Regions from separate parts of the Homo sapiens genome. Here regions 2 and 3 are each linked to region 1. The links are contacts of gene promoters, found by promoter capture Hi-C in blood cells and fetal thymus (Javierre and others, 2016). All regions are on one chromosome and are shown on one strand. The core of a region is centred on a gene start or on the middle of the fragment in contact, and the rest is flanking DNA. Distances in the headings are between cores, read along the strand shown. Region 1 holds the start of RAB31 (RAB31, member RAS oncogene family). Region 2 overlaps PPP4R1 (protein phosphatase 4 regulatory subunit 1). Region 3 overlaps VAPA (VAMP associated protein A).

The links. The method cuts DNA at HindIII sites, captures the fragments that hold promoters and counts their contacts. A CHiCAGO score of 5 or more calls a contact.
Region 2: a fragment that was not itself captured here is called in contact with the fragment with the promoter of RAB31 in region 1 in 1 of 17 cell types (neutrophils); the score reaches 5.7 in neutrophils.
Region 3: a fragment that was not itself captured here is called in contact with the fragment with the promoter of RAB31 in region 1 in 1 of 17 cell types (erythroblasts); the score reaches 5.1 in erythroblasts.

What each region holds. Positions count from the first base shown.
Region 1 is chr18:9,706,523-9,709,622 of GRCh38, forward strand. RAB31 (RAB31, member RAS oncogene family) reads left to right here and starts at 1,779. Exons shown (of 7, transcript NM_006868.4): 1 at 1,779-1,922. The coding sequence starts at 1,884. LOC124904244 (a long non-coding RNA gene) reads right to left here and starts at 1,450. Exons shown (of 2, transcript XR_007066281.1): 1 at 1-1,450. LOC105371981 (a long non-coding RNA gene) reads left to right here and starts at 2,150. Exons shown (of 2, transcript XR_935131.2): 1 at 2,150-3,100. RefSeq lists silencers at 1,474-2,043, 2,144-2,373. The HindIII fragment of the contact is 11,750 bases long and covers 1-3,100 here.
Region 2 is chr18:9,575,424-9,578,359 of GRCh38, forward strand. PPP4R1 (protein phosphatase 4 regulatory subunit 1) reads right to left here. Exons shown (of 20, transcript NM_001042388.3): 10 at 1,641-1,768. Among named protein-coding and RNA genes, the nearest start is that of PPP4R1, 38 kb to the right of the region's middle. The HindIII fragment of the contact is 828 bases long and covers 1,061-1,888 here.
Region 3 is chr18:9,948,197-9,951,212 of GRCh38, forward strand. VAPA (VAMP associated protein A) reads left to right here. Exons shown (of 6, transcript NM_194434.3): 5 at 2,199-2,372. Among named protein-coding and RNA genes, the nearest start is that of VAPA, 36 kb to the left of the region's middle. The HindIII fragment of the contact is 362 bases long and covers 1,070-1,431 here.

The DNA of each region.
Region 1 (3,100 bases), core at 529-3,028:
GACACCCGGGCTAGTGGAGAAGAGAGCAGAATGAGAGCAGTCATGAAAAAGAGTAAGGGAACACAAGAGAAATTCGGTTTGCCTATTTCTGTCTGGGCACAGTTCTGCCCTTAGCAATCTAAGGCAACTTCACAAAGCTCCACTCACTGCACGGGATGTAGAACACAGTGGAGGCTTCCACCCTGGTTTGACTGGCTTTTGGGAATCAAGCTGGAAAGCCAAAAGGACATGTTTCACTGTGGAGGTGCCCTCAGGGCTGGCGAAGGCCTTGGGGGAGGTGTCTTTGCAACTGTGTAGGGGTGGTTTTCTGATTAGCAAATCTGAGGGCAGGGAGATATTGTGATCAGGACTGTTTGATTCTGGGGAAGCCTCTTTTTACCCTGCCCACATAGAAGACTCTGCTTTGGATACAGAGTCAAGGACGGATACTGATACAATGGACCTGTAACTTGTCCATGGCTGCCTTTTGTACAGTTTAGTCCATTTGAGTAATCTCTACAAGCCTGCACCTCGAGGGCAAACTTCCTGCTCTTCTGGGGAATTTAATTGTGAATTGTCTGTTTCGGGGCCCATTTTGACTCCTGTATTCCAGGACTTATCTCTTTGGAGGCCTTGATTTGGAATTTCCCATTGGATGGGGCTACTTGGGTACTGGGTAGCTTCAACCTGGCTTCCGTAAGAACAAAGCCAGATGATCACGGTGGGTGGTCTGCTAGGAGAATGGAAATGCCATTGATTAAAATTGGAAGGTTAAGAGAGAGGCCTGAGAGTTTGGGATAGGAGATGAAGTTTCAAAAAATCAGTTTTTAAAAAAACATTTCCCATCTGAAATGCCAGTGAATTGTTCAGATAGATTACATTGAAAAGGCTGACATTTCTGTAGCAGCAACGAATGAAGTCATCCGAGTGGATGAGGTGCTCTAGGCCATACATGGAGAAGAGAACACAGTTACCCAAGCCTCCCCGACTGTGTGCGGCCACAGACTCTGCTCATTTCCCAGTTAGGAACGATGCAGGGGTCTGCTGGGATCTCCACGTTTCTACCTGTACCTCTGAGGACTGGGTTTCTGCCCACACGAGTTGCAGGATTTGCTCTACTGAGAAAAAGACTTTTGCTCCAGAAAGCAAGTTTCCCGTTTCAGACACGGACAGCGAGTTTTGCTTCTAGAATCATTTTCAGCTGCATACAGAAAAATGAACTTGGCTGAGCTGAAGAGCCACACATATGTTAAACGGAAGCTCGGGTATTAGGAACGTCGAGAAAGGCAGGCCGAAAAGTTAGCCCCCTTCTCCTCACCCCTGTCCTCACAGCGGCCCCTTCAGTGGCCTGACTTTTTCTGCGTGGGACCCAGAATGTCGCTTGAGGATGGGACCCCCGCAGACCTCCACGCGCTGCCACGCAAACGGCCTCGGCCGAGAGCATTCGCTTTCCAGATGAGAATGGCATCTTCAGGGACCCGCTGGTAGTGGGGCCAGGTCTCCACAGGGCCGGTCCAGTCCTTCCTACCCACCCGGGCCCTGCGGCCAGGCGGGGCCGGGAGGGGCGGATGCCGGAGGGCGCTGGGGGAGGCCGACCCGCGCGGGGCTGGTCCGAGGGCGGAGGCAATCCGCCGGCGACGCCGCAGGTCCCGGGTGGCTGACGCCGTCCGGGGGCGTTCCTGGGAGCTGGGGGCCGGCGAGGCTGGACCCGACGCGCCCGGGAGGAGCCGGCCGGCGGCCACGTGACCCACCGCGGCGGGGCCGGCGGCCCAGAAATAGCAGCGGCGGCGGTTCCGCCCGCGGGCGGCGCGAGCGAGGGGCAGAGGCGAGAGACGCCGGCGGGGCGCGGGCGCGGCGGCCCCGGAGGATGCTGCTGAGCCCCGGCACTGCCTGGCTGCGAGCACATGATGGCGATACGGGAGCTCAAAGTGTGCCTTCTCGGGGTGAGTCCTGGCCGCCACCCGCCGGCGGACCCCGGCCCGCGCTCTCGCGCCCCTTCGCTCCCCTATTCCCTGCGCGCTCAGTCCCCGTGATCCCCTCGCTCTCCGCACCCCTCTCGTAGCCCCCGTCCCCCTCGTCCGCGCGCCCCCTGGTTCCCCGGGTCCCCCTGGCTCCCCTAGTCCGTGCGCCCCTCGCTCTCCGCGCCCCTCGCTCTCCGCACCCCGCCTGTTCTCCGCCTCCCCGCCGTCCGTGCGCCCCTCTGGTCCGCCCCCGCTCTCACCCTGCCGGGGTCCGGGTCCGAGCCTGCCCCGGGCTTACTCCGCTCTTTCCTCCCGGCCCGCGAGTCCCCGGATCCGCGGCGACCTCGCGGGGACCCCCAGCGGGGACGGGGCAGTGGCGGCGAGTCTGGGGCCCCGAGGGCTTTCTCCTCCGCTTTTGATAGTTTCCTTCCGGCAGAAAGTTTAAGTTGCTCAGCCAAGTCGCTGAGTGCTCTTTTGCCTCCTGGGGGCAATTGATTTACTCACGTAAAACAGAAAAATAAAACCAAAAGCGAACCCAGCCAAGGGGGTGAAAGCCGAGGGCGCGGCCGGGGTGGAAGGTGAGGCAGTGACCTGTGCGGAGCGCGCCCTGCAAACTTCCCTGCTGCGGGTGAAAGAAGCTGCCTGGGAAAGTCCTCCCCACCATCACTCCCCTAAAGTGGGGTTTTCTCCGCCCGAAGAAGCCTTAAAGCAGCCAGAAACAAAAAAGCAGTCAATCCGTGCGGCCCGGGGACTGCAGACAGGGGACCCGGCGAGGACGCAGGGAGCCGCTGGCGAACCGCCCCTGGGAATTCAGATAAACGTAGGGTCGCTTCCTTTCGGGGGCCCACTCCGCATTCCAGAATTCCTTCTTCTAAAAGAAGAGCCGGTTCTAAGGGCGTTTTCAGCAGCCATTAGCATCTGGTGTACCCGCCCGTGTCATTGGCAAAGCTGGTCTCATGAAAACCATTTCCTAAAAAAGGGCAGCGAAAGGGTCGCATTCTTGTGCGAACTGATCTGTCAAGATGGGGGTACAAGAACTGTAGAAAGAGGAAATGATTTCGGTGAGGACTGAATTGTGCCAGCGTCTCTAGGCTTCCTCTAGGCTCTTGTGGAACCTCCGGCAGGCTCCCATCATCGGCTCCCATCACCGGCCTCTTCCA
Region 2 (2,936 bases), core at 225-2,724, 130 kb before region 1:
TATAGTTTGTCAAACTATGCAAAAGCTTTTACAATATTTAACATAACTCCTTCCTTAGCCAGGAATGCTCTCTTTCCCCTACCATATCATTAACATAATTTAATAAGCTCTAATATTACTGAAGATCAGCAATACAAGTAGTATTGCCTGGACATTAAGACATACCTCATTACAATGGAAGAAGAATCAAGGAATTGAACTACCTTTAAATAGCTATTGCAGTAATGCTACACACCGGTAGGCGGCAAACATGGCCTTGATAGGCACACTGTTGAGGTCAGTGAAGTTTTACTGGAACACAGCCAAGCTTGTCCATTTATGTAATGTCTACGGCTGCTTATACACTGCAAAGGCCGAGTGAGTAGTTGTGAAACAGAAGAAAGTTTACCAGCTCGTCCTATACAGTTCTCTGCAAATTTATAGTTTCTTACTAGACCCATTTCAGATTTTAAAACAGAAGTTATGTAACAGTCTTCAGTATAAACAGGTAATTTTTTAAGTATGCTGATTTCAAAAATGAAAAATAGATAACATTCCCCACCCACCATCATCACTTTTGTCAAAGTCCTGGCAGCACCTGTTTTCAAAAAAACTGACAGACTTTGCTTGCTAGGAAGACAGGTTTGAGTGATTTTCTTCCTTTACAAAAAACAGTACCTCAGGTTTGTTTGGCTATTCAGCAGGACAGTAGGAGAACGGGCAAAAAGGTAAAACAAGGCAGCAGAGAAGAAAGAAGAACTGCCAAATCAAAACACCAAGAAAGCAAATAGCACAGTATCAAGACCTACAGAAGAAAATGTCCATTAGCATCATGACAAGGGAGGGAAAAGACACTATGGTAACTCAAGCATTATAGCAGGGACTGTTTCAAATATTTGTACTAAAATTACTTCAAGTGCATAACTGTAAAAGTTTGTGTACATTTCCCGCATACTAGTAAGTTAGGCTTGAATTAGTTTTTCCCCTAAATATATATTATAATAAATTTTTAAAATTTAAATTTAATAGAAAATTTTCAATGCAAAAACATTTAAAAATAAAAATCACAGCCGACTCTTTAAGCTTTATTTAAAACTTTGGTTTCCTTATGAGACTGATATACTTAAAACTGATATACTGGCTAATATACTGGCTTTCTCCTTTAACTGACAGATTACAATCACCATTGACAAAGAATCCAAGATGCGCAACTAAATTATTTGACAGAAAAGGACAATAAAACATATTCCTAAATTAAGTTTTACTCCTTAAAAACAAATTTAAAAAAACCCAAATACTACACAGTGTGTAACAATTACCCTGTATATTGTAGATATCAATGAATGATTGACTAAATAATGTACTAAATAAACATTTTTTAAAAGTCATAATCTACCATTTAGAGTTTCCTATGTGCGAGGCATCTAGCTAATTGTGTTACATGCATCTACTCATTCAATATGTAACCAACCAAAGAGATACTTAACAAACAAATGCGCTTAAAGTAAAGCTCTATAAAAATATTCACCAATTTTTATATTCAAGAGAAATAGCAAACTATCAAAAAATAACATTTGTTGCAGAATAGTGGAAATAATGTTTAAAAGCAGTAAAATTAGAAAACAAGGTTTTAAAATTAGAAAATGGTTTCAAAATTATACCTATTTTTGTTTTCTACTGACATCTCTTCTGAACTTTTGCTTTCTTCTTTAAAATACTGGCCTGAGCTAGATGGATTAGCAAAAGTAGATATGAAAGGTCCCAGAGACTGAAAAGCTGCTTGGCGAACCTAGGAAGATAAAAAGGACAATAATAAAGGAATCATTTTGAAAAAGAATTATATACGCACACATTATGTATATTTAATAATCTACTTTCAAATGCCGAAGTATGTTTAGGATAATAATGAAGCTTTTCTAAAGGAAGCCCAGATTCAGAACTTTAGCTAGGACTGAAAAATTCTTACAAGCTATTTTCTCTGGCTGGGCGCAGTGGCTCATGCCTGTAATCCCAGCACTCTGGGAGGCTGAGCTGGGCAGATCGCTTGAGTCCAGCAGTTTGAGACCAGCCTGGGCAACATGGCGAAATCCAGTCTCTACAAAAAATACCAAAGTTAGCAGGGCGTGGTGGCGCATGCCTGTGGTCCCAGCTACTCGGCAGGGCCTGAGGTGGAAGAAGCGCGTGAACCCATGAGGCTAAGTCTGTAGTGAGCCGTGATCACACCACTGTACTCCAGCCTGGGTGACAGAGCAAGACTGTCTAAAAAAAAAACCCCAAACAAACCCCTATTTGCTCTTTTTTACTTTCAATTGTTTTTATCCTCTCTTGAATGTTTGAACCATGATAATCTAAGTATGAGATACTATGAAACATTTGCATAGAACAAAACTAAAGAAGGTCCTGCTGTGTTCTCAAGAACAAAAAGAATAAGGAAAACCAAGAGTGCCACAAAGAACATAAAAATCAATAAAGCCAACAAAATGTGATAAATACATTTAATGTTTTCAGGTAGGAAAGACTTTAATTTGTTCACTAGAAGGAAGCAAGACAGACGTACCAGAAACATAATGTTAACTTAAAGTATGTCACAAAGATCTTGAAGCATATACTATTGTTCTTGATGACTGTCTCATGTAGGAGGGGTGATAAAGAAGTTATAGAATTCCACTTCATGTCGTATTTCTGTATTATTTTTAAAATCAGGAATTTTTAAAACATTTGAAAATGAGAGGTTTTATGGAAGGATGGACACAATCGGACAAAGGCAACAACAATGGGAAACTGGTATGTTACTAAAACCTTGACTTTGCCACACACCAATTTCCCTGAAGTTTAGCATTCCTTTTCCTTTTGAGACAGCTCTTGCTCTGCTGTGGAGGCTGGAAAACAGTGGTGCTACCATGGCTCACTGCAGCCTCAAAATCCTTGGCTTAAGTGATCTTCCAACCTCAGCCTCA
Region 3 (3,016 bases), core at 1-2,500, 240 kb after region 1:
TAATTCCAAGTCTAATTCTATTAGAATTAGAAAAATCTAAATCTAATTCCAATCTAGTTATCTTTTTATGGAATGTCTTCCTATGGACATGTTATTTAAAATTTGAAAGAATGGAAAGCTGCCCATCAAATGCTTAACAAAAGTGAAATGTTTAATTTTGGCAAGGCATAGAATAGAATATTTAATGACATGTCATTTAATAATAGTAATATAAATAATAGTTTTGTTGATTTGACAAGATTGTGAGAAATGACTTTTTCCCTTCCCTCCGTAATTTAAAATTTTATGCAATGTAAAGAATTTAAAAATAATCAGTTGTCGAGCTTGATGATTCTTTTAGTTTTTTTTCTCTTTGGTGTTGACCCCATGTATATCTTTTTTTCCCCCTTTTGGAGATAGGGTCTCACTCTCACCTGGGCTGGAGTGCAGTGGCACGATCTCGTCTCATTGCAACCTCCGCTTCCTGGGCTCAAGCCACCTCAGTCTCATGAGTAGCTGAGATTACAGGTGCACACCACCATGCCTGGCTAATTTCTAAAATTGTTTTTTGTAGAGACAGGGTCTCCCTCTGTTGCTCAGGCTGTTCTTGAACTCCTGGGCTCAAGCAGGCCACCCATCTCGGCCTCCCAAAGTGTTGGGATTACAGACATCAGACATGGTGCCCTGCTTCATCCTCTTTAAGTTTTTATCAGTTTTCTGGTATGAGTATGATACTTTTTCCCAATTTTTAACCAAAACCTGAAAGTTCTTCTATTGCCATATTGGTGGCCATTGCCACCTCCTTTATAGAGTAAGTCAGTGTGCCAACCTCATTATCAGAAGTTGGATTTGTGCTAGGATAGAATTTGACCACACTGAAAATCACAAATGAGTTCTAACTACTATTAAGGAAAAGAACAGGAAAAAGTATTGGCAGGGTAAAATATATCTGAAACAGTTTTTTAATAATAGGGGCGGCTATTATTAGATTGGTTGGGGTGGGAGAAATGGGGGTGAAGAACAAAAAAGCTAGCAAGAGAAAAACTCAGAGAATTGAAGTAGGCTGCTTTAAAACGTTGCTTAACTGGGAAGCTTGAAGAAGAATGGAAGAGTCTGCCGACAGGTCACATACATGCTGTTGTTCATTAGAACCTCATTATAAATTTTCATTTTTAAATAGATTTTACATGGATTTAGGCATACTAATCAAATCACATCCCCTTCATAAGAATAACAAGTTTTGCCCTTTGAACAATCTGTTTATACTTAATATAAAATTGGCAGCTGGGATGGTGTGGTAGGTGTGCAGCCTCTGATAAATCTTATAAAATGAGTATTGTGGAATGCCATAAAGTTGATTTAGTAAATGTCTTTTTTAGCAGTTTATAGCTGAATAAAGCAGATTTTACCTAAAATTATTTTAAAGTAAGTGAATTTAATTAAAATGAAAAAAGCTTGTTACACTAATACTGCTACGATGTGTGGTGACATAAATGCTGTTGGAGTGAAGGATGTTGGGGTACTTTAGACAACGGGCTGAAGAATACATAGGTGCTGTCATAGATATTTATCTCCAGGCCTTCACTAGCTTCAAATGGTTCAATGTTGGTGAGGATTAAGATTTTGGGGCTCATAGTCTTCAAAGCATGCTAAGTGCTCCTGTGATGTTGAATCACGTGAATTAAAGCAAACAGCATTACTAAAGATGACAAATTAATAGAAGTTAGCTTTTCTTGGGCATGTTTTTTCTTAGGTAGTTTCCGATTTTATTGGAATGATTACGATAATATCCCCCTACCCCCCAGAACCTTATTTGAATTGCACAACCAGAGCACGGAAAATGACCTTCAATGGATTTTGTTGACGTCATTCAGCATACTTTCATTGAATAACTACTCTTGACCAAAGTGCTGGTTTTAGGGGTAAATACAAAGAGAGATGGCTCTTGCTCTCTCAGCCTTTGAAGTATTACAGGAAAGAACTTGAACAATAATTATTAAGATACATAATAAAGTGCTATGGTAGAGGTACGTGCCAGGGATTATGGGAATAGAGGGAGTGGGCTGGTTATTTAGACTAATCTGACTGCTGACATGTACTGATTTAGGCCTTTTAAAGAGTTTTTCATGAACAAAGATGTAGAATTTATATTGTTATTTGTTTAAAACCTGTAAGGAGATTTGGTTAGTTAAAAAATTCCCAATATCTTTGTAATGCAGAATGATATGGAACCTAGCAAAGCTGTTCCACTGAATGCATCTAAGCAAGATGGACCTATGCCAAAACCACACAGTGTTTCACTTAATGATACCGAAACAAGGAAACTAATGGAAGAGTGTAAAAGACTTCAGGGAGAAATGATGAAGCTATCAGAAGAAAATCGGCACCTGAGAGTAAGTTCTGTTGGTTGAAAATAAATTGATTGAAATGAAGGTATAGGACATGTGAGTGTTATTAGGCCATTTTAGCAATTAGCTTTTAAATTTTTGCTTGGTCAGTTCTTTCTTCTTTGCCCCAGTGCCTTTGCTCCCCACCCTACTCCTCTTTTAACAGTCTTCCCGTGGTTTCTCATTGCTGCAAGTTCCTTACTTTAGCACACATTCTAATTATTTGTGATCTGGCCTGCAGTATTGCCAGCTTCTGCTCTTGTTTCTCATGTCCTTCCCATTTTGTGCCCTAGTCATACTGAACTGCCTAGGATTGTGTTGTCCCACATCATAGCCATTAGTCACCTAGGGCTGTTGAGCACTGAAATGGGATTTGTTCAAATTGAGCTGTGCTGTTGAGTGTAAAATACTGATGTTGAAGAGTTAGTACAGAAAAAGGTAAAATCTTTTTTTTTTAATGGTTACATACTGAAATAGTAGTTTGGGTATATTGGGTTGAATCAAATATATTATTAAAATGAATTTTACCCATTTCTTTTTACTTTTTAAATGTACTGTTGGAAAATTTAACTTTACATACGGGGCTCACATTTGAAGCTCACATTGTATTTGCGTGGGGCAGCATTGGGCTGGAGTATGCTGGAGAAGCA